Regions from separate parts of the Homo sapiens genome. Here all the other regions are linked to region 2. The links are contacts of gene promoters, found by promoter capture Hi-C in blood cells and fetal thymus (Javierre and others, 2016). All regions are on one chromosome and are shown on one strand. Each heading gives the region's core, a stretch centred on a gene start or on the middle of the fragment in contact. The rest is flanking DNA. Distances are from core to core; before and after follow the strand shown. Region 1 overlaps SLC9A9 (solute carrier family 9 member A9). Region 2 holds the start of SLC9A9-AS1 (SLC9A9 antisense RNA 1). Region 3 overlaps SLC9A9 (solute carrier family 9 member A9). Region 4 overlaps SLC9A9 (solute carrier family 9 member A9). Region 5 overlaps SLC9A9 (solute carrier family 9 member A9). Region 6 overlaps SLC9A9 (solute carrier family 9 member A9). Region 7 overlaps U2SURP (U2 snRNP associated SURP domain containing).

Region 1 (3,389 bases), core at 112-2,611, 330 kb after region 2:
AGAAATACCATTTGACCCAGCAATCCCATTACTGGGTATATACCCAAAGGATTATAAATCATGCTGCCATAAAGACACATGCACACGTATGTTTATTGTGGCACTATTCACAATCGCAGACTTGGAACCAACCCAAATGTCCATCAATGATAGACTAGATTAAGGAAATGTGGCACATATACACCATGGAATTCTATGGAGCCATAAAAAAGGATGAGTTCATGTCCTTTGTAGGGACATGGATGAAGCTGGAAACCATCATTCTCAGCAAACTATCACAAGGACAGAAAACCAAACACCGCATGCTCTCACTCGTAGGTGGGAACTAAACAATGAGAACACTTGGACACAGGGTGGGGAACATCACACCCTGGGGCCTGTCGTGGGGTGGGGGGAGGGGGGAGGGATAGCATTAGGAGATATACCTAATGTAAATGACGAGTTAATGGGTGCAGCACACCAACATGGCGCATGTATACATATTTAACAATCCTGCACGTTGTGCACATGTACTGGAACTTAAAGTATAATAACAAAAAAAGTAAAAATAAAAAAAGAAAGTAGCATTTTAAAAAACCACCTCCCAATAAATAGCCTATAAACACTTTCACTTCCTTTTTTGAATAGAACTTTTTGGCTAAAAAGTTGATTATCACTGGTATTAGTTTGTTCATCTGCGCATTTGTCAATGCTTTTGATAGTTTCTGGAAAGCAATAGGCAATTAATTCTGTTTACTGAATAAATGAATTAACAAGTGAATGAATCTCTGAAGGTCACCCACCATGTGGTTAGCTCCTCGAGGATCAGAACAGCTCCTTTTCTCCTGTATTCTGCCCTCGTAATCAGGAACTTCTTTGCCCACTCACTGACCTGACAGAACTTGTTTCAAAAAGCTTTCTCCATTTCAGTGCAAAATAATAAATTGAACAACACAATTCCTTGTCTGTAGCACCCAGACAAAAGGTCAATTCTTGTCCTTTCTTGGCCGCTTTTCAAGAAATCCTGCCCAAGAGGCACCTGTGAGTCTTTATGGAACAAGAGGACCAAATCCCAGTCTGAGACTAGTGGCTGCTCTCCCATCCTAGGTACCTTTCTCTTAAGAAAGCACTCCCTTTTAGGGTTGTACAACTGCTGATCCTGCATTTACATAATCCAGAGAGTGAGTGCCTTCTTAAATTTTACTCCCTAGTTGCCTCACTCTTCCATGGTTTTGACCTCATCAACTTGGCTGAGTCCTAAAAAGAACCAGACAGCAAGGAAATACTCTCTAAGAATTACTGAATCCAATTTGTCTCAATGTACAATGTCTTCTTTAACACATAAATGGAATGTGTGGGCTGGACACTGACTTTCAAAACTTCCATCCTATACGTCTTTGAGCATTACTGAGAATAAACTGCTTTCATTTAAACGGAGACATTCTGTTCCCCAAAGCAGTGAGCCAGAGAGGTCTGTCAACCACAGCTGTTTCCCAGCTGTCCATGGAGCTGTTGAACTGCTTCAAACGGTTTTCAGTATGTTCTCGAAATTTCATCTTCAGAACACCTGGAGCCTTGCTTGATCCACTTTCAACATCCTGAAGCATTTATATAGTTGGTTGTTATCTATTATTGTGTCCAATTCTGTTCTGGAGGTGACTTTCCATAACTAGCTTCCAACTTCTGAAGCAAGACCTTTGTGCCAAGACCTTGCTATTTACAACTCTGTACTAAAGTAGAAAACAGTGGTTGGAAACTTGACTGTGATGTCAAACCAACCTGTGTTCTGATCAGACCCCAGCTGTTATGCAAATGAACTTGGTGATCTTGAGCAGGCTACTTAACCTCATTAAGCTTCAAGTAAGCTTCCTTGGTAAAATGGGGATAAAATAATCCCTTCTTCAGGTTTTTGGAGAATAATTAATTGGAGTTATTTATGCAAAATGTTTGGCATATTGTAAGTGCTTCATCAGTGGTGGTTACTGTATTGTTATTGTTCATGCCATCAAAACTATTAGTGGGTCAGTCCAGTATAAAATGGAATGACAGTTTCTACTTGTTTTCCTTTAACACTTAAAAATAACTTCAAATGAGAAAAAGTAGATATTATCAAGCAGAGAAATGTTAAAAACTCTTCTCTATCTCTCTTCCTTTCTCACAAATTACTCCCTTGAACTTCTGTATTTGGAAAGAACAGTTCCTATTCTGTGTCCATTTACTTTGTCTTTCTGAGTCTTAGGGTCTTCATCTAAAAATGAGGATGTTGAGCAAGATTGTCTTTAAGGGCCTTCCACATCTAAATTTCTATGGGTCTCACTCCAAACTCCAAACTGTAGTCTCCAGATGTGGAATGTGTATATTTTCCAAATCATGCGGATGGAGCCCTGATGCAGTGCTGGGATCAAGGGTGTGCTTTGCAGGGTTACAGAGCAGCATGTGCAATGGGCAGAACAATGTCAAGAAAAGTGATCATGAGTTTAACACTTCTCTGCATGAATGAGGGGAGGGCTGTCATAATTTCAAATGCATATGCCCTTGTTTTGACTGTGACTCTAAGGGTTACCAAGACAGGACACTCCAAAGAGTATCTGAGCCCAGGGAGACCTTGCTAATGTTCTGCAGGTGACGTCGTCTGTGGCCCTGGAGAGAAACATGGCTCATGGTTCTTCCAGCTGAGCTGTTATCTTCTTCATCTGGGCAAAATATTGGCTTGAGGTACAGGAGACCTTAAGCTTTCTCAGAGCCTTCTCCCCACCAGGTGGTACTCTGTGTTTACAAAGCTGCCTGGATTACCTCTGTCTTGTCTTTTAGACTACTGCCAGTTGTCGTATCTACCTCCCTCTTTAGACTGGGAGCATGCTGAGAGCAGAACCTGTGTCTGGTTTATTATCCCTTCCCTCAGTAGCTCCTACAGTGCCTATGACATAGCAGGCAATGAACAAATGTTTGTTAAATAAAATCAATTATAAAGTGGGAACTTGACTCTTGACTCTTGGATTTCATTTTCTTCCAAAGCTTGATTGGCACATCACTGTTCTATTTTGAGAAACAGCAATGGTGTAGGACAAAGAATATTGGACCTGATTTGTCTCCCATCTCTGCCACTTACGAGCCTTGTAAATGTACCACTTAAGTTTTTAGAACCTCTGTTGCTTGGAATGGAGATAATTGATCGGCTGTGGTGATGATCAAATTAGATGATATATTTGTACACATTTAGTTAATGGCTGCTATCACTAGATAACATACTCTCTAGTAGACGTATTCAGATGGAGCTTTTAATTTGCTGCCAATCCGTGGCTTTGGGTTGCTTCTACATATTGATTCAAGTACAGCCATTGCTTCAATAATTTTAAGCTGGCTGCAAGTTAGCAAAAGTCAGTTTTTTTTTCAGATAGATGTTAGTGTTT
Region 2 (3,554 bases), core at 901-3,400:
CCCTCAGTACTATTATACCACGCTTCATCTCCTGAGCACCCTGTGCTTTGTTGTCAGCCAACAAACTATAATTTCATGACTGACTGGCCTAATACAGTCTTAGGTTCCAGATTCTGTGCACAACCTCACCAGACCACAGAAGTTAAAGGAAAAGCAAATAAATAAATAAATAAAACAGTAGGCAGAGGTCAAAAGACAATGCTCAACACCAGCCTGAAATAAGGCAAGTCTCTCACAGGAATACATTCGGGATTTTACTATCATTTAACTGAAGGACTATTTTGATTACCTGCTGATTCAACATTAACTAGACATTTATTAGAACACCTGCTTTGTGCCAGGCACAGTGGTAGGCCTGGAGGCTATAGTGGGAAAAATAAAACAGGTACTAATGAGTAGTTGGAATTTCTTAATGGAAAACAAGATCATTCTCCATTGCAACCACTCTATAGCTAGTGGAGGCTTTGAAGAGACTCTTAGAGAGGTTTCAGTTCAGATCTTTCCTGGGGCTCACTTTGGTACCGTCTTCAAGATTTCTCTTGGAAAGGGGCATTAACTCCTTATCCTATCTTAGATGCAATCATATTGAGTTTTTGCCCTTACCATATTCATCAGTTTACATTTCTGAATATACTCATAAAAGGTCTCCTGGTCAGGTCTTATCTCCACTCACTAAAGATTCTCTTAACATCCAGAAATCTATCTCCAGACACCCTTTTATGTGCTCTTTCTAGAATGACAATATAAATGAGTTGGTACAAGAAATGTGAAAAAGAGAGATTGGAAATCTATTGAAATTTGCTAGTCATTAGTGCAGAAGGCTTTATTCACTTCCACATATTTTCTGCATTTAGGATCACCTGAACTTTATCACTTTTGCTGGTAGCAGAACAATTAAGCTGAATAGGACACTTAATTCTAAGAAAGTTCTAAAGAAATCTTTAAAATTTTTAAGACTATCCCTCTCACTATCCTTTAGGCTGAAAGTCTGTCCAAATGTCTTTTGGCACTTATGTGGAATATGATGAATTCCTTTCGCTGGATGTATCTCAGGATAGCATTAATTTGGTGTGATCGGGAGGTGAATTTCTTTAGGATCTTTTTCACTGTTCATGTGCTGTTTTGCAGTTCCTTTGGAGTAGTGGGGGCTTAAGGGGGCTTAGCTTTCATAAACTTTTGGTCTTGAGAATATATACCTGAGATGGGGTCGGTTTGGGAGCCTCCAATGCCTGTCAATTTGGGAACTCCAGAGTAGGATTTTATAAAAATAATCATCCATTCATAACTGTATTGAGTTACAAGGGAGGGCAAGAGAGTCATCCCAGGTCATAGTCATACAATGTAAATTTAGACCAAGGGATGAAACGTGTTGGAGAACACCCTGCAATAATCATTATTGGGTATCTGTGAATTTAACACACTTTTCAGAATGGGACAAGTTGCTTGCCACGGTAGGAAAAGCTGTGCCAAATGTTTGAGGAGAAATGTGGAGAGGAATAACATTAGCTTCAGATACCAAATTGCAAGTTAAACTTCCTGAGGATTTCCCGAACCCTGTTCAAATAAATTAAAATTTTGTTTACCAAAATGACTCCGATATGCAAATACAGAACACAGTGTTATATAGGTGCTAGGGACTGAAATTTTTTACAATCATATAATTTATTGTAATACTTAATATTATGATAAGACCGTTAATTTATCATATTTTCCCTGTAGTGTTTACTCACATGGACGGGGATAGATCCAGATTTCATGAAGTCTGAAGGTTACCTAATTTTGGAGGCTATTCTTAATAAAAAGAATGCACACTTTTGAATATCAACACTGGTCCCTTACAAAGGACCCATGCAGATGAAGAGCCCTGAAAGCTGAGTTTCATTGATTCCGGGTGAAACTACCTCTGGATGTGGAGCTGTGTTATGGGAATACCGCATCACAGTCAGGACCCAGCTCTGCTGCCGCCTCAGTAGGAGGCAAAGGTGGAAACGTGGAAACTATGGTTATAAGGTTCATACTTTACTGACCATCATTGAAGCTGCTTGTTGGGTCCCTTAGGAAGGGATCTCTCAATGAAACAAACATTAGAGCTTCTTATTTTTTTTTGAGACAGTGTCTAACTCTGTCACCCAGGCTGGAGTGCAGTGGCACCATCTTGGCTCACTACAACCTCTGCTTCCTGGATTCAGGTGATTCTCCTACCTCAGCCTTCTAAGTAGCTAGGATTACAAGGCATGTGCTACCATACCGAGCTAATTTTTGTATTTTTAGTAGAGACAGGGTTTTGCCATATTGGCCAGGCTGATCTTGAACTGCTGACCTCAAGTGATCCACCCTTATGACCAGCAGACCCTGATCTAAGAAGCTAGATGATTCCTCATGAGGTCACTTATAAACCTTATTGCTGATGTATTTCAGTTTATTTATTGGACTATCTTAGATTTTAAACACCCCACCCAATGCCACCATCTATGTAGCAACTAGAGCAGGACTCACAAATAAAATAACCTTCAAGGCCAAACAGCTTCCAATAGCCAGATTTGTCAAGATTAACTTAAGGTTTTAAAATTAGGCAATGCTTGTAGACACAAACCACTGTGGGCACCATAAAATATCACCTTATTTCAAAAGACTGAGAAAACTGAAAATGACCTGAAAAATTCCTATTGAGTGATCTATTTAATCACTCAGGTGGGGTATGGTGTATCTGGTGCATGTTCAACCTCAGGTGCAGGTGCATGTGCATGCAAATATACACGCGCCACGCTTTTAACCATGCATCTCTCTTTGAAAAGATCATTCCTTCTTTCTTATCTATATGTGAACAAATTGTCAAAACAACCTCAAATGCTAGATGATATAATCCCCAAATGCTAGTAATATAAAAATGACTGTAATAATACAAGTGATATCATTGCTATACATAGCACCACACTTTTACTGTTTCTCAAATCTACAACTATCCTATTTTCTAGTGTTTGTTTATTTCTTTATTCACTGAAATGACTGATATGGGCAGTTTAGACACCCAGAGGAGGAGATAATGGTTTTGATTGTGCTAGATGGTTTGACTCTGCTGAGTGTATCCTATAGACTTAATACCAACAGAGGTCATGGATATTTTTTTCCCACTTCTTTTCCTCTTTATTGTTAAGGAGACTAATTGTGTGTGAGTGTATGACAGGAAATGTTTTGATTTTTTTGTAGTGGCAAGAACAGGAGGGCATTCTTTTAAACATCTTTTCATTTTCTAGGCAAAGCGTGGGAATGGAGGATGAGAGATAGTCAATTTTCAGAATAAGATGTTCTACCAAGATGTAAAGAGGGGAAAAAAAGTAACTTTCAACAGCTAGGCAAGAACTGCCACAAGCAGTAGTCGAAAAAATCAACGGCATGGTTTCCTAATGTGGTCTTGGATTCAGCAAGAAAATACTACAGAGAGAAAACTGCAGGAGTCCCTATTTTGTCCCCTCAAAATGAATTAAATGGTCTAGTGGAAGCTGAAGGACTCTGAAGATGGTGAGTCTACCACTGATTCTTCAGATGGTGTCAAA
Region 3 (3,702 bases), core at 13-2,512, 290 kb after region 2:
GTCTCTTTAGTGATTTTATTGATCTCTCCAACTTTTTCCCTGAGTATTGCCAGCACACTTTTAATCTCCCTTAATTATTTTATATCTCTTCTATAAAATTTTGAACTTTGCTCTGAACATTTTTGTTTGCTTGATACTTAGGAGCATTTGCTTGATGTTTATTGCTTCACACACACACACATATAGAGACAGAGAGATCCATATTTTCTGCAAGTCCTTCAGAATAATGGAGAACTCTTTGTCTACAATTTTTCTGAAATACTTTGATGTATTTGTTTGGGGATTGTGGGCTCTTCTTTGGCTTAAATTCCCTCCATTATTTATAAAAAATTACTTTGCAGTTTTAATGAATATATATTACTCCCTCCTTTTTGATTATAACTCATCTTTTTAAAAGCCTGACTATTATTTAAATAATTAAATAATAGTACAGGGAAAGGGGTGAAATAGGGTAGAGTAAGCTGAGGCTCACTGCTGTTTTAATTTGGGTTTTGTCCTGGTTATCTAGTGTTGCAGAGCAAACCACCCCACAACTGAGTGACTTAAAATAACAATCAGTTATTTTGTTCACATTTCTGCAAATTGGGCAGGGTGCAGTAGGTCCAGCTCATTTCTGCTCCACGTGGTATCAGCTGGGGCAGCTTGAATGGGGTTGCAGGATCCACTTCAAAGATGGATCGCCCACATGTCTGGCAAGTCTTGCTGGCTGTCGCTCCCTCTCCAGGTGGAACTCTCCACAGACTGATTTGGCTTCCTCACAGCAAGGTGGCTGGGTTCCAAGAGTAAGTTCTCTAAGCGAGAGGAGGTGGAAGCTGCTAGTTACTAAAGGCCTGGACCTGGAAACTGGGACAGCATCCCTTCTGTATTCTTTACACTGAAGGTGGGGCATAGACCCATTTCTGGATAGGAGTGTCAATGAATTTGGGGGCTATGTTTTAAAACTGCCACTGGCTGTCTCAAGCATCTGTCACCAAATCTGTTATTTCTTTGCTATTGGGAATACATCTTTTTGTAGTTTATGGCATTCAAATTGAGGTGGCACAGAGAAAAACCCCCGAAGTTGCGGATGAATTATGTTTTAATTTGAAAACTTCTCCTTTTCTTCCATACAAATAGCCTCCAGCAGAGTCCTTGGCTAGGAAACCAGAATGTGTCAGCATGATTTCTATTTGGCTGCTGTTTTGAGGGGTCAGACTATTTTCCCCATTTTCCCCTGACCCATCTACCTGATCTTAACTGTGCTCTAAACAGCAGAATATTGGATGCTCCTTTCAGTAGTATGATGTGCTATCAGGTCCGAGAGAAACAGACTTGGCTCAGCATCTTACCATCTCTTGTTTAAGATTTCACATTATTCAGCGGCAATACTTCATACTTAAATATTTCATAGTTTATAGTTTGGAGTTGTGAATACTTTCCTGTTTCAACGGCTATTTTTTTTCTATTTTTCAGTGTTTTTCTTAGTTTTAGTTTGTTTTCAGGGAGTCTAGTAGAATAAAACTATTTTATCCTGCTGTCTTAAGCAGAAGCTCCACATGATCTGTAGAATAGGCTTAAAAATATATGTTGTGGTTTTAGAAGTGAGTTTACATTGAAGATATAGTTTACTTGTGGGAGAATTGGCTTTTGAATCTTGTCATCCTGTCTCATAGCAGCTCTCCTTATTGTTTGTGGTGTCTTTTTGGTCCTTTACTAAAGTTAAAATTTTTCTTCTCAGATATCTTGTACATTTATTATTTAATGTTATTCTAATTATGTTAGATTTTTAAGATGCTATTATGAATAAAACTGTTTTCCATTACATGTTATCATTAATTGTTGCTGAAGTCCTGGAAAGCTACTGACTTTTGTCTGTCAATCATCTGTCTAGCCAGATTTCCGATTTCTCTAATATTTTGCCATTTAAGTCTCTTGTATTTTCTAAGTAGACAATCATATCCGCTCATCTATTAAGTATTTTATTTTGATTTTCCCAGTTTTAAATTTTTTAATATTTTTATAGATTTAGGGGGTACAGGGGCAGATTTATTACATGTGTATATTGCATAGCTGTGAAGCCTGGGCTTTTAGTGTATCCATCACCCAAATGGTGAACATTGTACCTAATAGGTAATTTTTCAGCCTCATTACCTTCCACCCTTCCACCTTTTGGAGTCTCTAATGTTTATTACTCCACTCTTTATGTCCACGTGTACCCATTATTTAGCTCCCATTTATAAGTGAGAATAAACAGAAGTGCAAAGCACTGGGGAATGAGATAATCTCCTGAGACTTCTACTTCCCCATCTCTGCAGGAGACAGTGAGCCTGACAACATGCAGAGTACACCACTACTAAAACCTACAAACAAGCAGCATTTGAGCAAGCCACTACACTAAGGCTATCTATAACCAAGGAATTCATACGGAGCCTTAGCCCCCACCCCAAGATCACAAATTAGCAAAGCCAAATGACCCTACCCAACATATGCAACAGTCACACTTTCAAGGGGAAAAATAAAGTCCCATTAAAATGAATGTAAATTCAAAAATAAGAAGTGACAGTTTCTCCAGATGAGAAGGAACCAACCAATTCTGTCACCATGAAAAAACAGTGTTGTAACACCCCTCAAGGATCACACTAGCTCTCTAGTGATGGATCTTATCCAAAATGAAAATTCTAAAATGACAGATAAAGAATTCAAAATATGGATCATAAGGGAGTTCAACGAGATCCAAGGGGAAGTTGAAAACCAATACAAAGAAATCTGAAAAACAATTCAAGATATGAATGAAAAATTTACTACAGAGATAGATATTTAAAGAAAGCACAAAACTCTGGAAATGAAAAATTTACAGATGGAATTACAAAATACAGTTGAAAGCTTTAACAATAGATTAGACAAAGCAGAAAAATTTCAAAGCTTGACTACATATCTTTTAAATTAACCCATTCAGACAAAAATAAAGCAAAAAGAATGTAAAAACTGAACAAAGGCTTTGATAAATATGGATTTTCCTATTTTGAATTTCTATGATTTATATTTCAAATTTCAGCTTATCCCTGTTTTGTAGATATAATAGCCATTTATATACACCTTAGTAAGTATATATGCTTTGGGCTTTAGTTTTCTATAATGTTGTTTCCCCTTAAAGTTGATCTTATTTGCTTTTATAATCTATAGCTTTAGCGTAACTGACATCTAAAATCTCAACAGGTTTTTATTTTTTAAAGGTGAGAATAGATATGTATACTAAAGTTGCCATCTTGATGAAATGAGAAAACCAACTTAAAGAGGTTGACTGACTTGCTCATTGGTATAAAACTAGTAAATAATAAAGTCAGAATCCAGACTGCCAACCCAACCTTTACTTCTCCATGGAGAAGTAAAACACATACTTTCCACATCTGAGGTTATGTTCTAAGATTAAAGTTTTTCCATGAAAACTTGTATTAGAATTACTAATGAAAAGAAAGCCAACTGCATACATGCATATATTTTTCTACTTTTCCTAACTTTTTCTTATAAGTTATGCTAATGAAAAGGCTAAAAGTGAACAGCTATAAGAACAATAAACAATATCTGAAAATTTAAATAGTCAACTGTTACATAAGTAAGAATTAACTCTGCCAAGAAGTTTTTCTGAGTTCCATAAAAAGCAAAGTAGGCGGGTGAGAATGGGAATGGGGGGTAAAAATGAAAAAGGATAAACCTCAAAACACA
Region 4 (3,747 bases), core at 713-3,212, 340 kb after region 2:
TCACAAATGAATATAGTTGGTCACGGGAGAACTAACCAGGTAGGAAGAATCATGGAAATTCATTATTATCATGAAAACAAGCAAAAATATACATGTCTCACTGTATTATACTGATGGAAAAATAGCAGCCCCATCTTAGTGCAGCATAAAAATAATGATGACAACATAACAATAAAAATAAGACATATTATCTTATTTAATCCTTATCAAGAACCTTTAAAATAAACCTTATAGTCCCATTTTATATTTGGAGTAACTGAGGCCAAGTGAGTCAGATAAAATGAAGATTTAAACATGACTGTCCCACACCACGAACAGTGTTCTTAATATTCAATGACTGCTCTATTTATTTGATAAGTATTTATTATGTACTGTGCAGAACTCAATGGGCCTTTTATATTGTGAAGCATCTGTGATGATCTAGTCATTAAATATTATCTAGTGTTGATGATGATACAGATAAAGAAATAGATCCTATTAAGCACTTGTGTATTTTGCCTTGTTTGGTGAGAGAACTGAACTAATAATTTACATCAAATAGATTTTTAAAATCTGAACTTGATGAAAAAAATCATGGACTGTATTTTCCAGCTGGCTATGCAGGTTGTCTCCCTTTACTCATTTTAGATAAGTATTTACTTTTCATATTGAGTCTACCCAATTTAGGAACATTAAATGTGTCAACACACTTTGAAACCATGCTAACGTAATATAAATACCAAGTTTCTTGAACCTGTGACATGTTACATAAGAGAAAACAGTAATGGGTGTTTCAAAAACAATGCTGAGATTGTCAGGCTTAAGAACTTATTTATATTCTTACAAAAAGAATACAATTGAGACATTTGGGCAGGAGTTTATTTAATCCACTGTCCCCAAGTCAGAGGCTACAGTATTTGTGGTTTAAATGGCACATATATGATATTTGAATCATATAGATATTTACCCTCTTTTATTTCTGAAGCTTGGGTATAAAGTAGTTTATAGGTTATTATGCATCAAAGCAGAAAAATGAGACTGGGAGGAGAGATTTTAGAAAGCAAATCTCAGACATATTAATTCAATCTCATAAAAATAAATCGCCTATATTTTACCAAATGGTATAATCTATGTGGTGCATTGTATCTGTAATTAATACTGTATTTGTATTTAATACTCAATTTTAAATTATTACAGTATTTCTATTAAGGGTCATGGTTTTGGTTTCCAACAGTTTCATTTCCATATATCTTTATAGCAGTGCTGTCCAATAAAAATTTAACTCAAGCCACATATGTAATTTTAAATATTCTAGTAGTCTTCTTAAAAAGGTAAAAAGAAAACAAGTAAAATTAATTTTATAGGATATTTTATTTAACTTGATATTAAGTGAATATTATTTCAACATGTAATTAATACTGTATAAAATTATTAATGAGATGTTTCACTTTTTTCAAATGATGTCTTGGAAATCTAGGGTGTATTTATACTTGCAGCCCATATCAATCTGGACTAGTCACATTTCTAGGGTTCAGTAGCAACATGTATCTCGTAAGTATCATGTCGGATACAGCAACTCTAGAATGTGCCCTATCTAATGTTACCTAAATCAAGACACCCTGGATTAATTCTCTAGGAGGAAAATTGGACAAGTCTCTGAATTAATAATTATTTTCTAGTTTTGAATACTGGATTAATACTTCTGGAGCTCAAAATAGTGCAGCTGTATTTGAGTCTCAATGCAGCTGCATCATGTAAAATGAAGATACTCTAATCCAAATAGGAAACAGGGAAATTGATGAAGTGAGAAAATGCACAGAACACATGTACTTGAATGAGTGGCTTCCTGAAGACCTTGGAGGAAATGTCAGTTCCATAAATACCAGGATGAGTTTCTGGCATCTTCTGGGTGATTATTTAATACTTGATGCAATGTGCTGAGTTCTTCCTTTTCCTAAAAGAAGCTACTATTTTGAACATCTTCCAACTTAGAAAAAACACACGATTATAACTGCTTCTTGCAAGTCCACAAACCATAGCTTGAAATGCTCTGGAAAATGTTCAGCCACTGACCACCAGATAAACAGAAGAAAGAAATATTTGCTACATGGTTGGACAAGAGGAAAGGCACATATCTTTGTTTTAGTTAAATATATCTTCTTTGGTGGACAGAAACTGATAAAGCCACTCAGCTATGTACTAGAAGTCCAGCTATGTGCTAGAAATGCAGCTATGTGCTGGAAGTCTACCCTCACCTTGGGAGACTGCCCTTCCAGGGGCCATGAGACACCTCATCCGCGAGGGTGACCTGGGATACTCAACTACTTCACATTTCATAATTGAAAAGAGATACCCTTCCACACTCCACACTTTGCCCTAGCAGTTTCTTCCTCAAGTTGTATTAATTCACTGATTTAACAGGTATTTATTAAAAGCTCGCTGTTCTAGATATCAGAACTGTAAGACTGAAAAGAGGAAAAAAATCCAGAAAAATAGAAAAAAATCTCCCACACAGAAGACAAAGAAGTAAATAAATAGGTAAATAAAGAACTAAATAAATTGATCAATAGTGATTAGTAATTAGTGATGTGGAGGAAAGTAAGGCACGGACAGGGGATAGAAAGCTCTGTGATTAGGGGTGTCTGGGCAAGGGGGTGCAGTATTTAATAGGGTGAGCAAGAAAGGCTCTCACTGAGGTGACAGTTGAGCATAGACCTGAAGAAGGTGGGGAGGGAGCAACAAGCGAAAATACACCAAAGCAGCCACAAAACTGGTATGTTCAAGGCTCATGGGTATGCTTGTATCTCCACATATCTTTACACACCTTAAGGACTCCCCTCTTTATCCACCTACCCGATATGAAAGGAGATTTCCAACTTGTTAATCAAAATTGTTATCTTGGATAGTCAAATTTACCAAACGAGACCCCAAGACAGCAATGAAAAAGACAAGAGGAGAGTATGAGGCTGGACAGCTCCTTGACAAGCTTTGGCTAATCGCAAAATGAGAGCTGTTAAACGAATCATCTATTTCCAGCTGTTTGGGCTTTTGCTCTCTTAAGTTTTGTTTATCTTTCCTCTCCCATTCCCCATCCTCCTAGTCTCTGTTTTTTGCACACACCAGAAGAAGAGCTGGCTCATTCATTGAGCCCTCTGTGTATTTCTTTCTTTCCCTGTCCTGCCATTTTCCATATACTGTCTCTTTGGTTGTTCTGCCTTTCACTGTCCACTTGTTAAGTGCTGATGATGACCTTTCCATCATCAGCAAGATCTTCATCAGTAAGGAAAGGAGGAGATAAAATGAATCAAATTATAGTCAAATAATCCCAAATGGAGCTAAATCGAAAATTGGCTGAGAGTCTGAAATGTGCAGAAGAATTAGATTTAAGACTAAATGTGTATCCATAAAAGATGAATATGAAGGAAATAATAACAGCTAGCTAATATTTAGCTAAGGCTAAATGGGAAATAATTAATTTTTAAATGGCCAAGAAATGTCAGACCTGCAGAGCATAGGTTTCCTCTCGTAAATTAGTGAGTCACAATAATTTAGGCAATAAATGAATAATTGTGGGGTAAGATTAACTAGGTGTTTTAAGGTTGTTGAAGATCTTAAATTGCACCAATTTAGCAGAGAGTGGGTTCGGCATGTTTTAATATAACAATTAGTTCCCAGTAAAAGAAGAGAATTTAAGGGTTCCTATTCATGTGTGGGTTTCTACCTTATGAGATATCTTTAGCATTTGTTGATTTGAGGTTGGAACCTCAG
Region 5 (3,678 bases), core at 1,061-3,560, 380 kb after region 2:
TCCCTGCACAAGCTCTCTTTTTGCCTGCTGTCATCCGTGTAAGACGTGACTTGTTCCTCCTTGCCTTCCACCATGATTGTGAGGTCTCTCCAGCCAAGTGGAACTGCAAGTCCATTAAACCTCTTTCTTTTTTGTAAATTGCCCAGTCTTGGCTAAGTCTTTATCAGCAGTGTGAAAATGGACTAATATAGGTTCTTTATTCTTTTCTTTCAGTTCCCTCTCTTTAGGGTCTGTATGGGCTCCCTTTGTCCTTTGCTCAAAGGCCACTGCTCCAATCAGGTGGTCCTGTCCACACAGCTCTCTTTCCAGGTTTCTAATAATGACTTCATCTCTTTTGACTTCAGATGTTAATGGTATTTCACTCTTACTAGCCCTGGGAAACTGAACTACTTCTTACATTTTTTGCCTTACCCTGCCCACATAGTCTTCAAGCATCACTCTCTTAAGGAAACCATCCTGGACTCTCCTGAAAGAATACGATCTCCTTATTAAAAGCTTTTATAATGCCTATACTTTCATAGCACTCAGCATAGGATAAATGATTAATTATGTAATTGATTGTCTTGTGTCTATCTTTCCTGCTAGGATGAGGGCAGGGAACATCTCTGTCTTAGCCATCTCCAGATCCCTGGATCATGGACACATAGGTGCTCAGAAGCTACTTGTCAAATGAAAGCCATGAAAAGAGTGGGGAGAGGAAGAATTAGAGAGGAAGGCCAAGGCAGGAATGAGACAGCCCTGGTCAGAGAGACAAGAAACATCACAAGCCAAGGGCTCCCACACCGCAAGGTCAAGTGAGGGCAGCATCGAGCGTCCTCTCACTGTCATAGAAAACCTGGGGAGGTATGATAGCAAAACACTGTTTTGTAGGTCTCATTGTCCAAAGAGGTATGATTTGCCAAAGAGAACATCTTCAATTAAATGCACTTTCAAAATGTGAGGTCTATACCCAAAAGAGTAAATTGTTTTCTGTCTTACTACACACCAAGCCACCATCGTCCATAGCAACTTCACTGTATTTCACATAAGTGTTACTTTGAGCCATTTTCAAAAGAGAAATGGTGCTTTTTCTTTGAGACTCAAATGCCATTTTTTTGAGACAGAATCTTACTCTGTTGCCCAGGTTGGATTGCAGTGGCACCACCATGGCTTACTGTAGCCTTGACCTCCTGGGCTCAAGAGATCCTCCTGCCTCAGCCTCCTGAGTAGCTAAGACTACAGATGTGTGCCACCATGCCAGGCTCATTTTTTATTATTTGTAGAGATGGGGTCTCCCTATGTTGTCTGAGCTGGTCTCAGACTCCTGGGCTCAAGCAATTCTCCCACCTCAGCCTCCCAAAATGTTGGGATTACAAGCATAAGCCACTGCACCTGGCTTTTTTTTATGTCAGTATTTTTTTTTTTAAGGAAAATCACATACTTAGTTTCTTATTAAATTTTATCAGTTAATTATCAGTTCACATCAAAGAAGAGATGAGTTAGAGTGTCTTATCCCAGACTCTTGTCAAGTGGAGAAGAGTGGCCAACATTGGTCAGGGAGATTAGGCAGGACTCAGGCAAGTTTCTCCTTTCAGGAGGTTGTGAGAACCAAGAGGAAGAAGGACACTCAGAAAAAGCACACTATGGAAGCAGTAGGTCAAAGTTAGGAAATCAGTCCAGAATAGGGTTACCAGTTCAAAAGATGAGGGACAAAGTATTGACACAAAAACAAAACAAATCAATCCTCAGATAAATAAACAATCAAGATGACGACCACAGGGGAGATGCTGAGTGAGCAAATATGGAGCAGGCAGAGGGAAAGAAAAAAGAGACAATTCCCAAGGGAGAATATAGGATGGTACCAATGCCGTTTATGTGGCTCTTTTGCTGTTGGCTTGCACAACTGAGAGGCCTATGGGAGGCAACAGTAATGTGTTCACTGACCACAACTCGTGAGACCAGGGATGGGCAAAGGAGGAAGGGCAAGGAGACGAGGAATGGAGGGGGAGGAAGGCAAATGAATCACAGCCTTCAGCTGCTTCACAATCAGTAGCTCCTAGAGTTTAAAAAGACTTCCCTGAGAGCCTCCCAGGGTGGGTATGCCATGGCAGAACCCCTTCTGGGATATAAGGGATGTCCTTACACTAAACATAACCTCATACAGATCAGTGCTTTTCCAACCATGATGTGCATATCAATCATTTAGGTATCTGGTTAATATGTAGACTATTATTCAGTAGATCTGTTGGGGAGGCAGGTGCTGAGATTATGAATTCTAATACAGTCCCAGTGATACCATGTTGCTGGTCACTGGACTAGATGTTTTGTGTCAAGGTTGTAAACTAAGGTCAAGGTCATTTCCTAATGAATGGCTCTGACTATGGCTTCTCTCTTTAATTCCTCAGCTACCATAGAAGTTGAAAATTGGTTGTTGAGTGGCAGTGAGTGTTTATGAAATTGTTAGAATTCGTGGCTGACAATAAACAGATTACACATAAAAATTCAGGCTATGAGCTTCTCTTGGAAAATAAGAAGATCTGGCAATGTTGGGCCATTGTTTTCTCATGGAAACAATGGAAACAATCCATTGGAGCTTAGTGGTGGCTGCCTGGCTGCCTCCTTTTGATGGGGACACTTTCTACACTTGCCAGGCTGAACTACCCTTATATCTAAGTGATTTCAATCTTTTACATCACTGGCCTAGTCCCTTTTTGCATTTGTGTTTGTGAATTCTGATATACTAGTTTGAACCAAGATGCACCCCATTTGTTGGAAGGTGTTTTTTCTTCCAGTAAAGTCTTTTTAGTAGTCAATGCAATTCTTCATTTCAGAGAGAGCTATATCACTGGGATTGAGGATAGAAACAAGTCCATACACACAAAAAATCACATTTTCTGTTGCAAATGGCCTTGTCCATTTGCAGATAAGGAAAGGAAAAATGAATTGTTATACAGAGGCAAGGTTAGTAGATCTACACTTCACAATGTGGATGCAATATTCTCAGTGGCAAAAATGAATCAGCTGAACATGTTCAACAACAACTGAAGAATCCAGATGGTTATAGAAAGTTCAAGCCACACAAGTTAAAATCAAATAGGTAATGTGGAGTTAAACAGGAAAAAAAAAAAAGATAGTGCATCCCACCTAAGCCATTTCATACGAATTGGCACATTTATCAGTCTCTGACTTGAAAACATTAAGAACAAAAGGAAACATTCAGAGAGAACAACATAAAGCTGAAATAACCCCTTTTTCCTCTTTGCAATCTTTGGATGTGCAAACTCACCTACTGGTTTGATTTGCACTGTTTACTTACATTTTTCTATTCCTGTTACATATTTCTCTCCCCCACACACAGGATTTTGAGAAGAAACTCAGGGGAAAATGTTTTCTTTGCATACTTGTTTCATGATTTTTTTGAAACAGTATCCATAACACCAACAGCATCCTCACAGAAAGAACATTTCTGCCTTTGTTACAGAATGAAGAGGTTTGAATTAAAGGCACAGACACCAATGTGCCCGCGAGATTGGATCAGGTTCAGCTGTGTCCCAGCCATCCCAGCAGCTCTCACCTGGAGCTGAAACCCTCATGGAGTGAAATGCCTGGGTTCCACCACCTTCCTGGCCCCTTCCCACGTAACAGCTGAACAGGCAGGTTCTGCTATTGCCCTTTAAGCCCTTCATAGCACCTCCCACA
Region 6 (3,664 bases), core at 827-3,326, 310 kb after region 2:
TGTACGATACCAGAATTGCCGAAGCTGAGGAGCACAAGATTTCAGCTAGAATGGCAACATCTCATTCCTAGAAAGGAAGAGCTCTTGCCATGGTGTGAAACACATCTTCTTTTATTAAGACATTATGAAGACATGGGTAGAGAGGTAGGAGAGGCATCTGCAATACCAACCATATATTGACATGAGGAGATACTACATGGACTATTTCAAATGCTCCCAGGTTGGTGCTCAACAGCATCAACATTTATTCTTAGAGTCTGCATTTTTAATGGAAAACTACTGTGAATGGTGGTCCTGAAAGCAGAAAGGCCAAACCTTTCCTGGTTGTGTCGGCATGATTCTTTCCCAAGCTCATTTGCACTTTAGTGGTTTTGCTTTGCTTGGCCTTTTCCAACTTGGCAGCTCAGGAAGTAAAAATGAGGAACTCAGCAGATTTTTAAAGAGTTTTACTCCAAATGTTCTTTTAATGCTAGTATTTCTTGGACAGGGATTCCTGATGTCCTAATTAATTGTTCTTGGTGTTTCTTTAAAAGCATCCTTTAGCATTTGTGAATCTGCCCATGGCTTTTGCTCTTAATTTGCACTCACTGATATTTTCCTTTAAAGCAGGAAAGACACTTCTCTGTGGCCAGGTGAAATATAAGTATATTTGGAGACACACTTGAAAATTGTTGAATTCACTGTCAACTTTGGGGCAGCAGCCTTAAGAAATGTCAACTGGCAAAAAGAAAGAAAAAAAAGAGTAGTGCTGCTCTGTCATTTCTTACTCCCCTCTGTGAGATCTGACTTTAACAATCTTTTGTTACTTCACAATACATTTTAAACTGCATTTGAAGTAATTAACACCCAGAATAGAATCTTTTTGTCACATTGAATTATCAGATATTGACTTTCCTTTGGGATATCTGACAGTTGCCCAAAATGTTGGTCTTAATCTAAAACCAAGAAGAGACCTCTGACATAGTGAAAGCCACTGAAGTGGCATTTATTAAATATAAATGGTAAGTGTCTAAAGGGGAGGTAAGGAAAGAGCACTGGCTCTCATCCCCCCACCCTAATATCCTTCCAGCGCAAAGGGAAATTGCACTGGTGCTGAGCTGAAGCTCCATCAGTTTCATCCGTCATGTGATGTTTTAAAGATGTATGCATTCCTATACAGCATTACCTTTGCATTGAGAAATAAAGAGTATTCTGACCCTTAGGTTCTGGCTCCAATCTGCCAATCTGCCCATAAATACAAGGGTTTCTATTAGACTATTATCTGGAAAGTGACTTATATAAGGCGAAAAATTAAATGATATTGATTTGAAATGAAAAAAGCTCATTTATGTGCATTTTAGGAACCTAAGTGAATCAGCTAAATATATGCACTGAGAAAAATAAGTTACCCTCTAGGTAGTATCTTGTAATAAGCTGGAAACATAAAACCCATTAATAGTATTAGAAATTAGATGCCTAATGAATTGTGCCCATTATGGAAATTTTCTGTGATAACAATTCCTTGAAAAAAGCTAGAGACTGCCCGTATCTCTGTGACATAAGAGAAAAGATACAAGTGAAAGCATATTTCACATGATTAAAGAAACATAGGCCAAGTTCTGGTACTTACTATGTAAGGACTATGGCCACTGCATCATTCAACACACTCTCTCCAAACAAGAGTGTGTACAGGTCAGGGTCGACGTGCAGTTCATGGAAAATGGCCAGCACTGTCACTAGGAAGACACACACAAACATGCAGGTTAGCTTGGATGCAGGCATGGAGTTTTCCTTGGCTATGGTCACCACTCAAAAACATTAATGAAATGCTCATCTTCTCAAATCCAATGACTATACTAACACCAGACCTTTATTCAAAAAATATCTGATGCTTAAGAGGCTTCTCTTGGCTCCCTACTGCTTAAAGATAAAATTTGAGCTCCAAAGTACAAGTACCCTACAATCTGCACCTTGCTTACCTTCTAGCCTCATCTCCCTCTGCCCCCTTTGCTGCCTTTCTCAAGTCACACTGAACTTGCCATAATTTCCCAAACACACTGTGTAGTTTCTTAACTACCTTTGCATTTTGATTCCTTCTACTATGGCAGCAATTCCTTCCTCGTCCACTTGCTACCATCCTTGTATTCCTTAAATACACACACACACACACACACACACACACACACACTTCTTGCTACCAAGGACTCATTTTTTTCATTCTTTAAGAACCTTTCAACTGTCCCCCTCCCAACCCTTCAACTGCCTCAGCAGAGGCCTGGCTCACTCCTTTCTGGATCCCAGCATTTGGATCAAATCACTGAACTTACCACAGAAAGGACTGGGAGCTCCCTGGAAATGGGGTTCATCTTTGGACACATGGTGTTAGACCATACTCAGTAACTGCTTGATGCATGAATGACTAAATGAATGAGTGAATGAATAAATGAATAAATGTTGTTGCAATGGCCTACTCCTGTGAAGGGAGACACGGTTCCACCTGAGTCTCATTCTGTCCTGAGATCACACTCACCCGTGAAGATGGACTCAATGATCTTAAGAACAGGACATGAGGATTTGTTTCTGGTTGCCTGCTGCATGGCCTGCTACTATATGCCATGTTCTTGTATTGAGCCTCTGTGAGTACATTAGGGCAGTCAATACTCACACACTGATTATCTGTGTTCATCAAAACTATTCAATATCTTGATATTTAAAACAGTTAAGCAGAGTGTGAACAGCAATCATTAGGAAAATGATCCATTGAATTAATTGCCAAGGGGGAAAGAGGGAGGTTGAAAATGATATTGATGGCAAATGTCTAAGGCAGAATGGGTATTTTTAATTCTGTTTTTCCTTTCCTATTTCATGGGTGGTGAGGTTAGTAACTGTGTTGTACAAAACAGTGCTACGAGGAAATAAAAGCAAGACAGACAAGTTGAATGTGAAGGTTTTATAAGTAGGATTAAGAAGTTTGGAGCTTGTTCTTTCATAATAGAGAGTCATGAAGGGTTTTAATAAGAGAGATGACACAATCTGAACTTTGGAAATAAAGCTCAGGCAGAAGAGCAGAGGGCAGAATGGACACATGGCTGGAGGCTTTCCCAATAATTTCAGGAAGAGATGAGTTGTACCAGGACAGGAAGAGGCCCGGATTCATGCTCCCAAACTCTTACATGTTCACTGTCCTGGGTTCTAATAGACCAATGACCACTGTGCTTTGTACTTCACAAATATACCTCACTGGTTTTCATCTTCTCTGTGTGCCACAAGCCCTTAGCACAGTGATGCGACATAGTAAGCCTTTAATGAGTGAACGAATAAGAGAGAACATCAAGGAAGATATAGCAGAGGTGACAGCACCCCAGAGATATTTGAGATGGAAAATTGGTGGGTGTTGGTGCTTGAGAGGCAGCAAGGAATGACTCTGGATTTTGATCTATTGTACAACATGTGACTATATTTAGTAGCAATGTATTGTACACTTGAAAATTGCTGAGAGAGCAGATTTTAAGTGTTCTAAGCACAATGACAAAAGCATGCGAGGTAATACATATATTAATAAGCCTGATTTAGCTATTCTGCAAGATATGCATATTTCAAAAAATTATGCTGTGTACATAATATATACAGTTCTTGTCAATTAAAAAGTGTTTTTAAAGAAGTTACTGCAAAATCCAAAAAAAGA
Region 7 (3,778 bases), core at 508-3,007, 300 kb before region 2:
AACACAGTTTGATACGATGGTGAAAACTTGTCTACAATGATGTTTTTTCAGAAATGTTGGTGTGATTAGAACAAGTCAGCAATGATGATGACAAAATATTTACATAATGTTATAGATGTGGCTTGCTAATGGAAATACCTATCTGAGGCTGTTTAGGAATACACAAATTGAGAACCGTTTAGTTCAGTTTGCTTTAAAACAGTGGTTTTCTGAACCCTTTTTATGTTCGTGATCCTATGATTAGTAACATCTTACCATTTTAGAATCACTGCTTTAAAAGTAGTATACGTACTCATAAAATAATTATTTAATTTAGGGGGAAGGAAGGGTAGAAAAGCCGTTGAACTGAAAAAAGTATTGTTCTATTAGTTTTATTTCTAAAGGTATTAGTTTTTTGGCATAAAACTGATATTTGTGTTAATGTTTGGAATATGAATACATTTTAGCATTGATGTTGGAATACGCATACATTAATGGAAGCCTGGATCACTAGAAGTATAATTTTAGATTTTTCATTTTTCTTAGGAATTTCAGGTAAATCATGATAATGTAAAAATAACAAAGTACAAAGCAAGGAAAAAAAGCTTTTGTGCAGCTTGTGATCCTTGAAATGTTCTCATGCCTCACTACTACTCTCTAGTGGCTGAATCCTAAATGTCTTTTTACTTAAGGCTGATTTTGTAACTAGTAATTATTATATTTTGTGGCAATATTGTGATTCGTGGCAGAAATGTGATTTTTAAAGCATGTTTTGGAGAAAAGTTACAAAAAGCAGTTTCATTTGTATTGAATACTGTATGGATTTAGAATCTTGAATTTGCATGTCTTTTTAAAAAAAGAAGAGGAAGAAGCTGTGATAAGATTTGAACCTCGAATTGTGGCTAAAAGCTAAGGCCAAAACCAGTTTAGAAAAACTGCTTAAGCCTTGAAAAAATTATAATAGCAATTTAAAATATTTACATATTTTAAATCATGAATAGAGCTCATTTAAAAAGTCTTAAGTAATATGGTTAAATGTTTAATGTTCAGCCATCTAGACCCTTTCTGTGTGTATAAAAACATGCATAACTATTGACATAAATGATGTAATATTACTGTACATGCTATTCTGTGACACGTTTTTCATTCAATGTCATTGGTATTATGCCATTTTAATCTGTTTACCTGTTCTGTATTCATCTATGATTGAAAGCAAACATTTTGGTAAACATACAAGGATGTTTACCAAAGAATATTTGAAATTGCAAAAAAAAATTAGAAAAAATTTTACAGGCTAGAATTGGTTAAGTAATCAATATCTGCTGTATTATTGTTTCATAGTAACTGTGACTCAGTTTAACAAAGTCACGTCCTTATTGAGTCTTCTAGAATAATTCTTCAGTAAACATCCCTGTTTACATAAACACACATACACTTCAATCTAAAAGCATCTGAAACACTTGTATAATTTTATGTACCATAAAACAGGAAATTCTTGTGTTTTAAAAAAATTAACTAAAAACTGTATTTAGGAAATTTATGACAAATTAATGAGAAATATTAAGTAAAACTTTTTTTCCAAGAAGAATATTTTTAAACTGTTGGTTTGGACTTTTTTCTTCCTTAGCTAATATTGTATTGAGTTGTACCTGTATGGTGATATTAATGATTTGTGTGGTTCTGAAGATGAAGTTAGTAAAATATTTTAGTAATGTCTAGAAAGGACCTTTGGTTGAGAAATTTAAAAGCTAGTATCAGAGTTTTCTCAGTACCATATCTTTTCTGATTCTGAATTGACAGCCTTTCTTTTTATCTGCCTGGTGTAAATTTTTCTCTCATACAATGAAGGTCTTATTACATAAGACTTTAATTAAATTTTATTTGGAAAGAATTTGATTATAACTTTTTACATTATTAAGAATAATTCTACATGTATATTAAAAGGAATCTTTCTGCTCATCGTAGAATGTCCTTAGTACCCAAATACCAACATAGAAGGGCTTGCGAGATTCAAGTATTAAAGGCAAAACAGCGTTTGTTCTGGGTTATGCCAGTAATGTTATCACAGTCAACATTGTTTGTAAGGAATTTTGTTTGTATATATATAAACATTCTGAGTTTGTTTGTATATGGGTATCTTGTTTTGCCCAGATTTATTTGCCAATAGTATACACACACACACACACACACACAACCCAGTCTCAGAATGTATTTTTTTTAAAAAAACCATTTGTTCTTTGTGCTTCAAGAACATTTGGTTAATCCTGTACTAGCATTGATGACCAGCTTTACACACAGTTGCCTGTTTGTGTTTCCACTAGACTGCTTCTGGAAGGACAGGAGAATTTTTCTTCTTTGTATCCTAAGTGACTTACTCATGATAGTCTCTCAGGTTTTTATTTTCTTGTCTGACCCAGAACCAGTGCAACTTTCAGAATCAACTGAAATGTGAATACCGGTATTTGCTAATATATAAAATGCATACATTGCTTTATTATTAAGGTTATGTGCTAATCAGATAAGGTCTTTACCAGCTGTATTGGTTATTTCTTAGTAACTCTGTGACTCAAGCTCATGTATTTTCTAGATTGATTATAGGCTCTGCTGAAGTTACTAAAGGCACACATACAGCTTTTTTTATTTTTAATTTTTTTTAATTTTCATTTTAAAAGTTTTTGGGGTACAAGTGGTTTTGGGTTACATGGATATATTATTTAGTGGTGATTACTGAGATTTTGGTGCACCTGTCACCTGAACAATGTACACTGTACCCAATATATAGTCTTTTATCCCTCACCCCCCTCCCATCCTTCCATGTCCCAGAAGTCCATTGTATTATTCTTATGCCTTTACATCCTTATAGCTTAACTTTCACTTATAAATGAGAACATAGAATATTTGTGAATATTGTTGCTCACAATATGAGTGAAATAACTCAGGAATGGAGAACATAAAGCTTCTTGAAATCACTCTGAACTGTGAAGTATGCAGAAACTTGATTATTCGTTTCATTTAACTGCTGCAAGGAAAGTTTGTTGCAAATGGAAGGCACACAGATAACAACATAAGCAGAATTTATTACAGTATGCTTATGTTGAAGCTCACACATTTTCTGTGGAGGAAAGAAGTGTTTTATAAAATTGTCTGTAAAATATTGATAAAATATTTTGCAAAATATGCTTGAGGTATGAATTGTCCTATTATGTTTTGGCTATGTTATTTAAGCTCTAAGACAATGAAAAATAAAATAGGTAGACTGTAAAATATGGTACTCTCTTGCTGCCTTGACATACAATGTATTCTGCTTGTTTCTAAAGTCAAGAAGAAGAAAGTGAAGATGAAGAAGATACTCAAAGTTCCAAATCTGAAGAACATCATTTGTACTCTAATCCAATCAAAGAAGAAATGACTGAGTCTAAGTTCTCTAAGTACTCTGAAATGAGTGAGGAAAAACGAGCCAAACTTCGTGAAATTGAGGTTGGTGTTGCAGTGAAACTTAAATTACACTTTATTGGCTTTTCACTTTCTCCACCAAACTAAGTTGCCTCTTTGCATTGTACCGTAGTACATACTGTTCCTTCTCTCTGCTTAGAACTCTTCATACCAGATGACTTTTCTTCAGGCCTCTTAGTTCAACCGTCTGTTCACTCACAGCCTTTTCTTACCCTTTTGGACTTACTTGCTTCTTCCTATTTATTTCTGTGTGATTTTATATGTATTGTGGGGTATGTATGTGAATGTGTATTTTGTTTGTTTGCTTACTTGCTTGCTTGCTTATTTAATGTCTGTCTTCCCCATT

Evidence for each region. The method cuts DNA at HindIII sites, captures the fragments that hold promoters and counts their contacts. A CHiCAGO score of 5 or more calls a contact.
Region 1: a fragment that was not itself captured here is called in contact with the fragment with the promoter of SLC9A9-AS1 in region 2 in 10 of 17 cell types (M2 macrophages, M1 macrophages, M0 macrophages and 7 more); the score reaches 14.9 in M2 macrophages.
Region 3: a fragment that was not itself captured here is called in contact with the fragment with the promoter of SLC9A9-AS1 in region 2 in 9 of 17 cell types (M2 macrophages, naive B cells, erythroblasts and 6 more); the score reaches 11.9 in M2 macrophages.
Region 4: a contact is called between a fragment that was not itself captured here and the fragment with the promoter of SLC9A9-AS1 in region 2, in 8 of 17 cell types (M2 macrophages, M1 macrophages, M0 macrophages and 5 more). The highest score is 9.5, in M2 macrophages.
Region 5: a fragment that was not itself captured here is called in contact with the fragment with the promoter of SLC9A9-AS1 in region 2 in 2 of 17 cell types (fetal thymus and naive B cells); the score reaches 5.8 in fetal thymus.
Region 6: a fragment that was not itself captured here is called in contact with the fragment with the promoter of SLC9A9-AS1 in region 2 in 7 of 17 cell types (M0 macrophages, M2 macrophages, naive B cells and 4 more); the score reaches 11.0 in M0 macrophages.
Region 7: a fragment that was not itself captured here is called in contact with the fragment with the promoter of SLC9A9-AS1 in region 2 in 4 of 17 cell types (M0 macrophages, naive B cells, M1 macrophages and 1 more); the score reaches 6.2 in M0 macrophages.

The regions. Positions count from the first base shown.
Region 1 is chr3:143,667,948-143,671,336 of GRCh38, forward strand. All of the region lies in intron 5 of SLC9A9 (solute carrier family 9 member A9), which reads right to left. Among named protein-coding and RNA genes, the nearest start is that of SLC9A9, 180 kb to the right of the region's middle. RefSeq lists an enhancer at 1,471-1,520. The HindIII fragment of the contact is 939 bases long and covers 893-1,831 here.
Region 2 is chr3:143,340,096-143,343,649 of GRCh38, forward strand. SLC9A9-AS1 (SLC9A9 antisense RNA 1) reads left to right here and starts at 2,151. Exons shown (of 4, transcript NR_048544.1): 1 at 2,151-2,189; 2 at 3,255-3,519. The region is part of intron 14 of SLC9A9 (solute carrier family 9 member A9); the gene reads right to left. The HindIII fragment of the contact is 6,948 bases long and covers 1-3,554 here.
Region 3 is chr3:143,634,488-143,638,189 of GRCh38, forward strand. The region is part of intron 6 of SLC9A9 (solute carrier family 9 member A9); the gene reads right to left. The region is part of intron 1 of LOC102724120 (a long non-coding RNA gene); the gene reads left to right. Among named protein-coding and RNA genes, the nearest start is that of SLC9A9, 210 kb to the right of the region's middle. The HindIII fragment of the contact is 3,196 bases long and covers 1-2,860 here.
Region 4 is chr3:143,683,823-143,687,569 of GRCh38, forward strand. The region is part of intron 5 of SLC9A9 (solute carrier family 9 member A9); the gene reads right to left. Among named protein-coding and RNA genes, the nearest start is that of SLC9A9, 160 kb to the right of the region's middle. The HindIII fragment of the contact is 2,001 bases long and covers 963-2,963 here.
Region 5 is chr3:143,714,997-143,718,674 of GRCh38, forward strand. The region is part of intron 4 of SLC9A9 (solute carrier family 9 member A9); the gene reads right to left. Among named protein-coding and RNA genes, the nearest start is that of SLC9A9, 130 kb to the right of the region's middle. The HindIII fragment of the contact is 3,635 bases long and covers 494-3,678 here.
Region 6 is chr3:143,650,646-143,654,309 of GRCh38, forward strand. It overlaps SLC9A9 (solute carrier family 9 member A9), which reads right to left. Exons shown (of 16, transcript NM_173653.4): 6 at 1,610-1,715. The region is part of intron 1 of LOC102724120 (a long non-coding RNA gene); the gene reads left to right. Among named protein-coding and RNA genes, the nearest start is that of SLC9A9, 200 kb to the right of the region's middle. The HindIII fragment of the contact is 4,289 bases long and covers 1-3,664 here.
Region 7 is chr3:143,039,821-143,043,598 of GRCh38, forward strand. U2SURP (U2 snRNP associated SURP domain containing) reads left to right here. Exons shown (of 28, transcript NM_001080415.2): 24 at 3,297-3,456. Among named protein-coding and RNA genes, the nearest start is that of U2SURP, 40 kb to the left of the region's middle. The HindIII fragment of the contact is 2,351 bases long and covers 583-2,933 here.